2 separate regions of the Homo sapiens genome follow, and region 1 is linked to region 2. Evidence: promoter capture Hi-C in 16 types of primary human blood cells and fetal thymus (Javierre and others, 2016). All regions are on one chromosome and are shown on one strand. The core of a region is centred on a gene start or on the middle of the fragment in contact, and the rest is flanking DNA. Distances in the headings are between cores, read along the strand shown. Region 1 has its middle 36 kb from the start of DNAAF10. Region 2 holds the start of PLEK (pleckstrin).

Region 1 (5,167 bases), core at 3-2,502, 240 kb after region 2:
AAATTTTTTTTTTAAATTAGCTGGGTGTGGTAGCACAGCTTATAGTCCCAGCTGCTTGGGAGGCTGAGGCAGGAGGATCACTTGAGCCAAGGAGGTTGAAGCTGCAGTGAGTGGTGACTGTGTTACTGCACTCCAGCCTGGGGAAAATGAGAGACCCTGTCTCAAAAATAAATAAATAAATAAAAGCAAATGTTGGTGGGTGATTAAAATGATAAAATAATGATAAAACAAGTAATTAGGAAAAAAAAGTCCATCTTAACCTCTGGCCTGTTTTTTGAAGGCATTGTTGTTGATTAGGGTTAGGTTCAGCTGCGGGTAACTGAAAACCCAAAATAAAGATTACGCATTATCCAGTGTGCCTGTTCCAGTTGAACCATCACATCCACATTCCAGACATCAGAAAAGTAGGAAAAGTAAGAAAAAGAACATCTTGCACTTTGAAGAGCACTTTTGCTTGTATCCATTGGTGATGATTTGGTCCTGTGTCTCGGTCTCACCTATCACAGTGAGACCGAGAAGCATAAACCTGATTGTGTGCAGTGTTATACCCGGCTACCATTTGGGAGTTCTGGTCCTGAGGAAGTAGGGAAATGGATGTTGGGAGGTGTAACTGGATTCTGCCGCCCTGACAGAGCCGTCAAGCACGGCCTCCCTGGCTGCGTCCTCCCATGAGGTGAAAACTAGGGCGCTACCAATGCGTGCTTCCTTAGGCCAGATCTGGGTCTTGGCACCCAATACTCCCTTTTGGCAATTGTATCTTCTCCATCAGCTCTTGTAAACCAGACACCATGGAATCCCTTGGTTTTTTAAGTTACTTTTATTATCCTTTATGTGCACCAATGCAAGCCCAGCCCAGTACAAAAACAGGAAAGGAAAACTCCCCCTACACACTCAAATTGATCTTCATACTACATTTCTTTTCTTGGGAATTTGTTTGTACTTAATAATAACTTCTTTCGAATCCCAAATACCTTTTCCACTCAGGGGCAGTACAAAGTCACGCGCAGTAGAACATGAACGGCGCAGCTTACCTCATGCGTGTCCATAAACTCACCAAAGGAACTTGAAGGGAGAACAGTGTCTTTATGATCCGGCGTGTCTTGGTACCTGCTTAAAGTCACTTTTGCTTGTGATTTAGCTGGATACACTTTGCATATATACATGAAAAATAATTTTTTTTCTGGGAATGTCTAAGGACTATCCAACACACAAAATGATTTCATCCTTTTCTGAATGAGAACAGCCCGAAAGTTTCTGGCAAATACGCAGGGTTCGTGAGATATGAAATTCAATTATGTCGTGGTACATAAGGTCCGCCTCTTCACGACTTTCAGTGGATTTTCTTCCCCTGGGAAGGAGGCCCCTCAGCCGCACGTTCCGAATCCCAGGCCGTCCTTGTACCTGAAGACCCAGTGGTGCGCTGCCCCCTTGTGGGAGATGTGGGCATTGCAGACCTTTCAACACAAGGAAACGGAATTTGTCTTTCAAATGCAGCTGGAAAAATCTATCCTGTTTAATTCCCAGGAGGCACGCAAGCCAAACTGGACCTTGAGAAAGACATTATCTTACAGAAATGTCTTCCAAAAATGTGATTGTGTTTATGAAGAAAACCCACTTTGTATATAACAACACTGCATAGCATGCCTATGCTTCTTTTTACAGAATGGGTTTTTTAACCAAAAGTTGGATCATTAGCTTTATTATAGATTCAGTCTTACTGGTAGCATCACAAGGCTAACTTCCAAGAGAAAATATTTGGCTTTTTATAAAGTGAGGAATTATTTTGTAAAGTAAATAGTACATGCCTCTATCTCCTACCAACCGTTTATTCTGTAAATTCTGATTTTAACGAAGCATTTCTCAGAGTAAGGACTTCTTTATACCATCACTTAACTTCCTGCAGGAATTCTAGAATTTCTCTCCATCTTCTTTGCACCAGATCCAATGTTTTGTTTTGTTTTGTTTTGTTTGAGACAGAGTTTTGCTCTTGTTGCCCAGGCTGGAGTGCAATGGCACGATCTCAGCTCACTGCAACCTCCGCCTCCTGGGTTCAAGCGATTCTCCTGACTCAGCCTCCCAAGTAGCTGAGATTACAGGCGCCCACCACCACGCCCGGCTAATTTTTGTATTTTTAGTAGAGACGGGGTTTCTCCATGTTGATCAGGCTGGTCTCGAACTCCTGACCTCGAGTGATCCGCCTGCCTCGGCCTCCCAAAGTGCTGGGATTACAGGCATGAACCACCGTGCGCAGCCATATAGCCACTGTTTTTAAAAGCCATTTCTGCACTACCAAGTTAGTGAGTAGCAGCCCTCCACCTGCCCACCTTTGGCGTATGGACCATGCAGCTAAAAGAAGCAACACAAAATAAACTGTGGTCAAAAGAGACTCACAGTTCTCCCTCACACCGGAGGCTGAAGACACTCACACTTCCTCCTTTTAAGTCTTCAACTTTTCTTCTTTATGACACCCAAGGCTTTCATGGCCAGTCAGAACGTCAGTGCCAGAAGAGGCCTTTGAGACCTCTGCACTCAATTTCTGCATTTGAAGACAGACCCAGGCCCTCATCTCCTGACCCCTCATCCAGTGATATTCTCCTGCACCTCCCTGAGGAGTTGCTCAACACTCTGATCCCTCCGAGAAGCCTGGGGTACCTCTAAATTTAACATGCCAGAAACCGAGAACTCTATGCAAACAACACCACTGCTCAGAGGTGATAAGGGTAAGCAAATAAACCACCAGGGAGAAACAGAAGCAGAGTTTTGGCTCTCACCACCCTGTAGATAAACAAGTGTTTGATCTGGGCTGAGCACATCCCTCATCTGGTGAGAGATAACATTCACACTCAGAGGGAGTCTGTGCTTGCAGCCAACAGGTTTGGAACCCTATTGAGCGCTGACCTGGCCGCACACAGACTGAACTAGGGCTCAGGAATGATGGACCAGGGGAAATTTTGTTACCACCCAGGGGGAAAGAGAGGGTCTTCCTGCATTCCTAAGAGCTCACAGGCTAAAGGGCCCTAAGAAAGCAGACACAGAAGACACAGAAGCCTCAGCTAAGGGGGAGTCCTGACGGCCACAGTCCCCACTAATCCACTATGGGCCACTTAGGGCTTGTTGTGAATTTTCCAATCTGTTCCGTAAAGCTTCCTAGGAAGAATGTCAGAAGCCTTATTCTCTTGCTCTCGGTTGAGGCTATGGAAGCTAAAGAAAGCAGTATATGCCAGGCGAGGTGGCTCACACCTGTAATCCCATCACTTTGGGAGGCCAAGGCAGGTGGATCAATTGAGGCCAGAAGTTTGAGACCAGCCTGGCCAACATGGTGAAACCCCATCTCTATTAAAATACAAAAAATTAGCTGCATGTGGTGGCATGCACCTGTAGTCCCAGCTACTTAGGAGGCTGAGGCAGGAGAATCGCTTGAACCTGGGAGGCAGAGGTTGCAGTGAGCTGAGATCACGCCACTGCACTCCAGCCTGGGTGACAGAGTGAGACTCCATCTCCAAAAAAAAAAAAAAAGAAAGAAAGAAAGACAGTGAATGAGGAGTAAACTTGGAGGGAAACCAGTGGCCTGTCTCTAGAGTCTTGATCAGGATCACATTTATAAAGATGATAATGTTGACAATAATAATAATAGCTGCTAATATTTGTGGAGTGCTTACTATATTGTTTCTCTCATGTTGTATTTTTAAATCCCCACCACAAAACTCTGGGGTAAATACTATAGTTTGTTGTTGTTGTTGTTTTGAGATGGAGTCACTCTGTTGCCCAGGCTGGAGTGCACTGGCATGATCTCGGCTCACTGCAACCTCCACCACCCAGGTTCAAGCGATTCTCCTGCCTCAGCCTCCCGAGTAGCTGGGATTACAGGCGTGAGCCACCATGTCTGGCTAATTTTTGTACTTTTAGTAGACATGGGGTTTCACCATGTTGGCCAGGCTGGTCTTGAACTCCTAACCTCAGGTGATCCACATGCCTTGGCCTCCCAAAGTGCTGGGATTACAGGCGTGATAATAAACTCTTAACCTCACCATTTTTGTATATAAGTGGAGGTCGTCAGAGCACTTTTTTCATCCATTTTGCTACTTGGACTTAAGGATGAAAGTCCTATTACAAACTGTTGTCACAGTGAATGTTGGCATTGGGAAGGGTGCTGGGGAGAACAGGGAAAGAGCACAGGAGCCTGAAAGGGGAGGAGGGGGAAGGGATTTCCACACACTCTCGCCACAGCCTGTTACCGTCTCCACGGCAGCAGAGCAGCAGGTTGCCTCCCCATGCCCACTCTCCCCTCCCGCCTCAACAACAGGAGCCCATTTTAATCACAGCACATAATAAAGACTGTATCTCCCAGTCTCCCTATCAGCAAGGTGTGGACACTGTGGAGCATGAGGATGGGCCTGTCGTCCAGAGGGGGTAAAAACAAAAGCATAAGGAGTCTGGCCCTGGTGATCTGGGAGCCACCATACCTGCCCTAGGCTGTTTACCTTGATGACTTTGACAATAGACAAAAATACTTGTTTCTTGTTTAAGCCAATAAGAGGTTAGGGCTTTCCCTTGTATTCATGAATGAATGTCTTCGTACATTTTGTGATGCTATAAAAGAATACCTGAGGCTGGGTAATTTATAAAAGAAAGACGCTTATTTAGCTCACAGTGCTGCAGGCTGAGAAGTTCAAGGGCACAGCCCCGGCTTCTGGTGAGGTCCCTCACTCATGCTGCCTCACAAGATGGTGGAGAACGTCAGAGGGGAAGCAGACATGTGAGAAGAGAGGGAAAGCCGAAGGGCGTCTGACTTTATAACAACCCACTCTCGGGAATGAATCCATCCCCACGAGAACTAATTCAGTCTCACAAGAGACAGAGCTCACTACTGGGAGAACAGCACCAAGCCATTTATGAGGGATCCACCGCTATCACCCAAACACTTCCCACTAGACCCCGTGCCCCAAGAGCACCACATCGGGGCTCAAATTGCAACATGAGCTTTGGTGGTGACAAACCAACCATATCTAAACCACAGCAGAGACCTAATCCTAACTACTAGCTGCTAACTTCTAAAAATTTTTACAGAGGGGAAACAGGCTCAGTGAAAGTAAGTAACTTTGTCCAAAGACATGCAAATATTACCCAGCAGAATTCGGTTTTGAATCTGTCTGTCTGATCCAAGACT
Region 2 (5,799 bases), core at 1,715-4,214:
ACTCTGAGGCAAAGAGACATGGGTGTTACTTGGAATGAAAAAGCTGGAAAATGACAGAATCTTGTATTTTCCCTCCCCCTCTTAACCACTGTCTTCATTTGGAGATCTTATTCAGGAGGCAAAAGAGGAAACCTGGATTGTGAAATGTCAACAGTCATCTTGCACAGAAGAAAAGCAGAAACGTTTTACAGTTAACACTATTGACCCCAAGATTTCTGACCTGACAAAATTCCTGCACCAGCATTTTCTAATGCTATATTTTTTCCACCCAAAACAACTTATCTGCAATAAAATTATTTCATAAAACAAGACACAGGACAAAGATGTTCTCTGTTACTACCCAGGTATCTTGAACTGCATAAGAGAAAAAGGTGAATGGAGGAAGATTCACTATATTATTTTTCATGCTTTAATATCAAAAACCATAGCCAAGGCTTCTAAGAGCCTTTTCAAAGATTTTTATGGCCCTTCCTTCATAATTAATTTGGCAACCAACCCAGGAACCAGTACATAGCCCCATTAACATCTAGGGGAGGCCCCACTATCTACTGAAGCATATATTGATGCTGATACAAATAATCAGTGTCTTATGCAGCTTATGTACACCAATTATATGTCAGATTCTTGACATATACAGTTTTTAACCCACACGTGAGGTAACTGAAGGAAACTTAATGTCTAAAGTAGTTAAGAACTTTAATACCTTCTCAGGAAACTCTGTCTTTAGGTTTAGTTCTGCAGCTGAAAAAGGGAATATTTCTGGACCAAACATTTCTTTAAAATATCAAATGAGACGCTGGAAGCTATGTGAGAGTGGAGGGTTGGAGAAGGGAGAGGATCAGAAAAAATAACTATTGGATACTAGGCATAGTACTTAGGTAACAAAATGATCTGTACAACAAACGCCTGTCACAGGAGTTTACCTATATAACAAGCCTGTACCTATACTCCTGAACCTAAAATTAAAGTTTTAGAAGAATAAAAAAAAAAAAGAGAATCTTAATGCATTATATCAGAGTGTTCAAAAGGTCCCAGAGAAAAATGCAGTAATTATGGAAGATGTAACTTGTAAACATGAAAATTATGGAAGATATAAATTGTAAAACTATCAATACAAAATTTCACTATTTAATTCCAGGCACATTTTCTAGATTGGCTTTTACAATCTGAGAGAACTACTCTCACTAATTAAAAACTATTTATTAATTTAAATCCACATGCTTGACAACCCTGACTCTATCATCCCCAATTTTTAGTGAGACAGCTTCACTTATTAGAAATTTAGTCTTCATATTTTTGTAATTTAGGGAGATTAAAATATGAGCATACAAACTTTATAACAGCAATTTTCATTGCAAGATGTTTTTAATTGTTTAAAAAAACAAACAAAAACTTGCAGAAATGTTCCTATTCACTTGCTCTTCTCAGGATACTAGCACAAGTGATCAGGAAAGGAATAAGTCAATATTAATTATTACCAGGTCTCGCCAATTATTATTGGTGCCTATTGCAAGTAATCTTTTACACTTCTATGTATAAGTGTGTCTTTTCCAAAGGATGTTTCGAAGCACAGCTGGCTACAGAGATTAGCAGCTGAGGGCCCACTTATTCTCCAGTACCAACTCATAGCTCTCACCATCACAAATACACTACAAATCCTAACTTGGAATAAATCTGCTTTAAGAAAATGCTGGAGTAATGAACAAAGTTCAGTGCCATGAATCAGAAACCTAAGCATCAGAGAAGGAGTGGCTGGTCACAACTGTCATAGCCATGTGACTTGGGGCAATCACCGAGCCTTCTGGGTCTGTCTCCTCTTCTGCAAATGAAGGAATTAGGCCAGATGACCTAGGGTCCCTCCAGCCTGAAGTCAAAATGGAAGCAGGCAGCAATGTGTGCTATTTAACCCCCCTTACAGGTAGAACATTGTAGGTTAAAACGTGAAACAAATGAGTAGCCTAAAACAGACTCACATTCACTGTTCATTCAACTAAAAAGCTAAGCACCTGAAGGAAGGCACTACGTTCAGCTCATTTCTGAAACAATCCACTCACTAAGGTTAGTGTGAGCATATCTGTGTATATAGGTGTTGCCCACAGGACACCAAGTCCTATGTGTGAATTCACATCCCGGGGAGCTTTCACAACCACACAGCACACACTCAGCATCCGAAGAAAGACAAACAGCACTAAGAAAATTCAATTTTCATGATGCACACCAGGGAGGCTAAGCCTTTTTCAGTACCCTAATCTTTAAAATGGTGCATCTACCACCTCGATGCCACATTATGCAAATTTACTAAGAATTGTGAGTGAAGAGATTTCAGCCCAATTAAAAAAAGATAAGGTTTTTTTTAAACGTGTCAATTCCAAGAAGATGGCCCAAGAAATAAGCCGTAATTACTCTATCATTATATCAACTCTTTAATCACTTTTTTCCCCTTGCCTCCCAAAAAAAGAACTGAGGGGAAGTGGAATTTAAATAAAAAATGAATAGTCCCTCCAAGAAACCTCCATAGAAGAGGAGTATATCTTCTGACAGAACACATCTGTGTGCCTCTTAAAAAGGATATTCTAAATCTGGAGGGAGTTAGCTTAGATCCCCACCTTCCAGGCCCTGCCATCTGGAATTCTCAGACCCGTAATATCAAACTGTAAGGAAGCCGGGGCTGGATGAGTATCCCCACTCCCCTAACCCCACTCCAACATTCTATGTGCTACCACGCTCCCCTATTTCAACCCAACTGGTTGAACAGGAAACATTCCTAAGATGAGCAGGTAGCCGGTGGAGCTGAACCCAAGTCTCCCCAGCCCATGTCCACTGACACCCTGGTAAGTGGCACCTTCGCTCACCTTCTTCACAAGGTAGCCCTCTCTGATCCGCTTTGGTTCCATGCTGGCTGGACAGGCAGATGCAAAGGTCACTCTCAGGCAACTCCTCTCAGCAGCTGGGCCTCCTCTGCATGCTGAGGTGGCTGTGGGCCGCCTTTTCTACAGCAGGTCGCTTTCACAATTTCCCTTCTGCTGGCGGTCGCATGATCACATCCTCTTCCCCTCACTGGGTTGGAAGATCAGAATAAGGAACTGCAGAGTAAACCACCCATTCCTTGCTAATGCTGGAGACTTATTAAAACCACAGTTGGGTTGAATATTTACCTAAGGGAAATTCTTACTACCATACAGAAAATCCCTCTTTTAAAGAGAAAAAGAAGTGATGAAAGGAAGAGGAAGATGAACAAGAAAAACTTGTTGGTGAAAATTGTCCTGAGTAAGGATTATTCTTGAGATCCTGGAAATGCCCAATAAAAATGCCAAGAAATTCAGAACCATCTGGTTAGCATAACAAAGTTAACTACTAAATGAATGCCTACTTCTCTCTATGCCAAGCCCTGTATCAAGTGTTTCTCAGCCTACTTATTTTAAACTAAATTAGTCTGCACATCGGCCAGGCATGGTAGCTCACGCCTGTACTCCCAGCACTTTGGGAGGCCAAGGCAGATGGATCACCTGGGGTCAGGAGTTCAAGACCAGCCTGGCCAACATGGTGAAACCTTGTCTCTACTAAAAATACAAAAATTAGCCGGGCATGGTGGCGTGTGCCTGTAGTCCCAGCTACTCGGGAGGCTGAGGCAGCAGAATCACTTGAACCTGGGAGGCGGAGGTTGCAGTGAGCCGAGATTGGTCCACTGCACTCCAGCCTGGGCGACAGAGAAAGACTTCATCTCAAAACAAACAACAACAAAAATGAGTCCACACATCAAACCCATAGGGAAAGTATATTATTTTCCTTATCTTAGAGTAAGGAAACTCAGGCTCAGAGAAGAAAAGTTGTCTCAAGTTGACGCTGCAGGTCACAGGGGAAAGCAGAAGAACCAGGGAGGGATGTGCTAGGGTGCCACTGCCTCACATCAGGCATGAGAACAGGTGTTCCACGTTGAGTGCTGATCTCACAGTCAGCCTGTAAAAAGAAGTCCATCATCAAACAGGTTTTTGAGAAACTTTACAAAATAATCCCAGGTTGGCAACTCCTCTAAATGATGAACAAATTAAAGACCTTCGCCCCGCCAAAGTACTACAGTAAAGAATCCTATAATGGTGTTTTCCAAACTTACTTCGCCATAGCATTCTTTTTTGAACAATTTATGTTAACTTTTTTTGTCATAAATTGAATTAGATCTCCCAAAAAAGAAGTCCTAACCCTTAGCACTTCAGAATGCATCCTTATTTGGAAATAGGGTCATTGTAGATATAATTAGTTAAGATGAGGTCATACTGAAACAAGTGGGCCCTTAATCCAATGTGACTGGTGTCCTTATAAGAAAAGGGCACACAGAAAACAGCCATGTGACAACAGAGTGATGCATTTACAAGCCAAGGAACGCCAAGGATGGCCAGCAACCCCCAGAAGCTGGAAGAGGCACGCAACAATTCTCTCCTAGAGTTGCTATAGAGAACATGGTGCTGACGACACCTTGATTTCAGACTTACGGCCTCCAGAACTGTAAGACAATAAATTTCCATTGTTTTAAGCCACCAGTTTGTGGTACTTTGTTATGGCAGCCCCAGGAAACCAATATAATCCTGAAAAACGAATATTCCATAGAATAAACTTAGAGACCCGTTAATCTGACCATGTGAAAATGAGCAAGTTTGTTATTACTTTGTGCCTCAGTTTTCTCATCTGTAATACGGGGATAATAACACCTATCCAATGAGGTCATTCTGAAGATTAAATGAGATAGACATGGAAGTATTTAGAAGAGTGTCTGAAACATAACTAGTATCCATAAATATTAGTTGTTCTTCATCTTCAAGGCAAATCTCCGTTATCCTAGAGCTGATCCTTTTCAATGATAAGTTCAACAGAGATGATGAAAGCAATCGTAGGACTAGATTTTCCTCATTACACCCGTCAGTGTTCTTTCACTGCAATCAACAGATAACAACTCTGGCTAATAGAGGCAAATAGGAATTTACTGGAAGAGAATGGAGTGGCCCACAGACTGCAGGAAAAATGAAGACTGGGGTCTTTGAAAGGACAGGAATCAGGGCAGTTGTGGGGTTCCAGGAAGCAAGACACCAAGATGAAAGAATGCCAGTGGTTTTCAGACTCTGCAGTAGTCTCCAGGGATCAGGCCTCTGATTGGCCTAACTTGGCCTAGTGCTTCTCTCTCCGGTATCTGAAGGGGGAACATGTGAACCGACAGCCCCAGCAGGACCATGCTCAATGGGAGAAGGGAGGTGTCCCCTAAAGTAAAATCAAGATGCTATTAACAATAGATGAGCGATGGCTCCGAGAAAGGCAAAACTGACAGACGTCCACGAGGGCATCTGAGGAGCCAGGAAAGTTAGGGGAAAGAAGAAGTTCTGTTCTTGGGGTTTTCTGAGAGCTTCCTGATTCCCTCTCCTCTTCCCTCCAGCTGTGTTTCTAGCTAACAGTCACTGCCCCTGTATTTCTCACTTTTCATTTTATGCTAATATCCATTACTTAAAATCGTTGATGGTTTCTTTTCAGTTTCTCATTGCACCAAAATTAATTAGAAATTGTTATAAAGTGTTGGGGGCTGAGAGTAGAGGGATCAACGTTTGATGTCACCTGAGCAAAACAGGAACAAATAAAAGGGTAATTTTCTGTATCTGCACTCAAACAAGTATTTTGCTATGTCTGTATAGTCAATGGAAACCACTCTTAGATTTACCAAGTCTGATTTCATAGTTAAATATATCTCCTTTTGTTTAACTGACCAAGTGACTTCTAATTTGGAATGTCTTCACTGTTTGTCCTAGCATGATCAGAAGG

The links. The method cuts DNA at HindIII sites, captures the fragments that hold promoters and counts their contacts. A CHiCAGO score of 5 or more calls a contact.
Region 1: a contact is called between a fragment that was not itself captured here and the fragment with the promoter of PLEK in region 2, in 1 of 17 cell types (monocytes). The highest score is 6.2, in monocytes.

Annotation. Positions count from the first base shown.
Region 1 is chr2:68,118,829-68,123,995 of GRCh38, reverse strand. It overlaps the pseudogene PPIAP64. Among named protein-coding and RNA genes, the nearest start is that of DNAAF10, 36 kb to the left of the region's middle. RefSeq lists enhancers at 1,265-1,559, 2,408-2,487, 2,498-2,667, 2,898-3,057. The HindIII fragment of the contact is 3,787 bases long and covers 1-3,145 here.
Region 2 is chr2:68,362,447-68,368,245 of GRCh38, reverse strand. It overlaps PLEK (pleckstrin), which reads right to left and starts at 2,964. Exons shown (of 9, transcript NM_002664.3): 1 at 2,853-2,964. The coding sequence starts at 2,894. LOC101927723 (a long non-coding RNA gene) reads left to right here and starts at 1,842. Exons shown (of 2, transcript NR_187652.1): 1 at 1,842-2,831; 2 at 5,787-5,799. RefSeq lists an enhancer at 2,925-3,004. The HindIII fragment of the contact is 25,233 bases long and covers 1-5,799 here.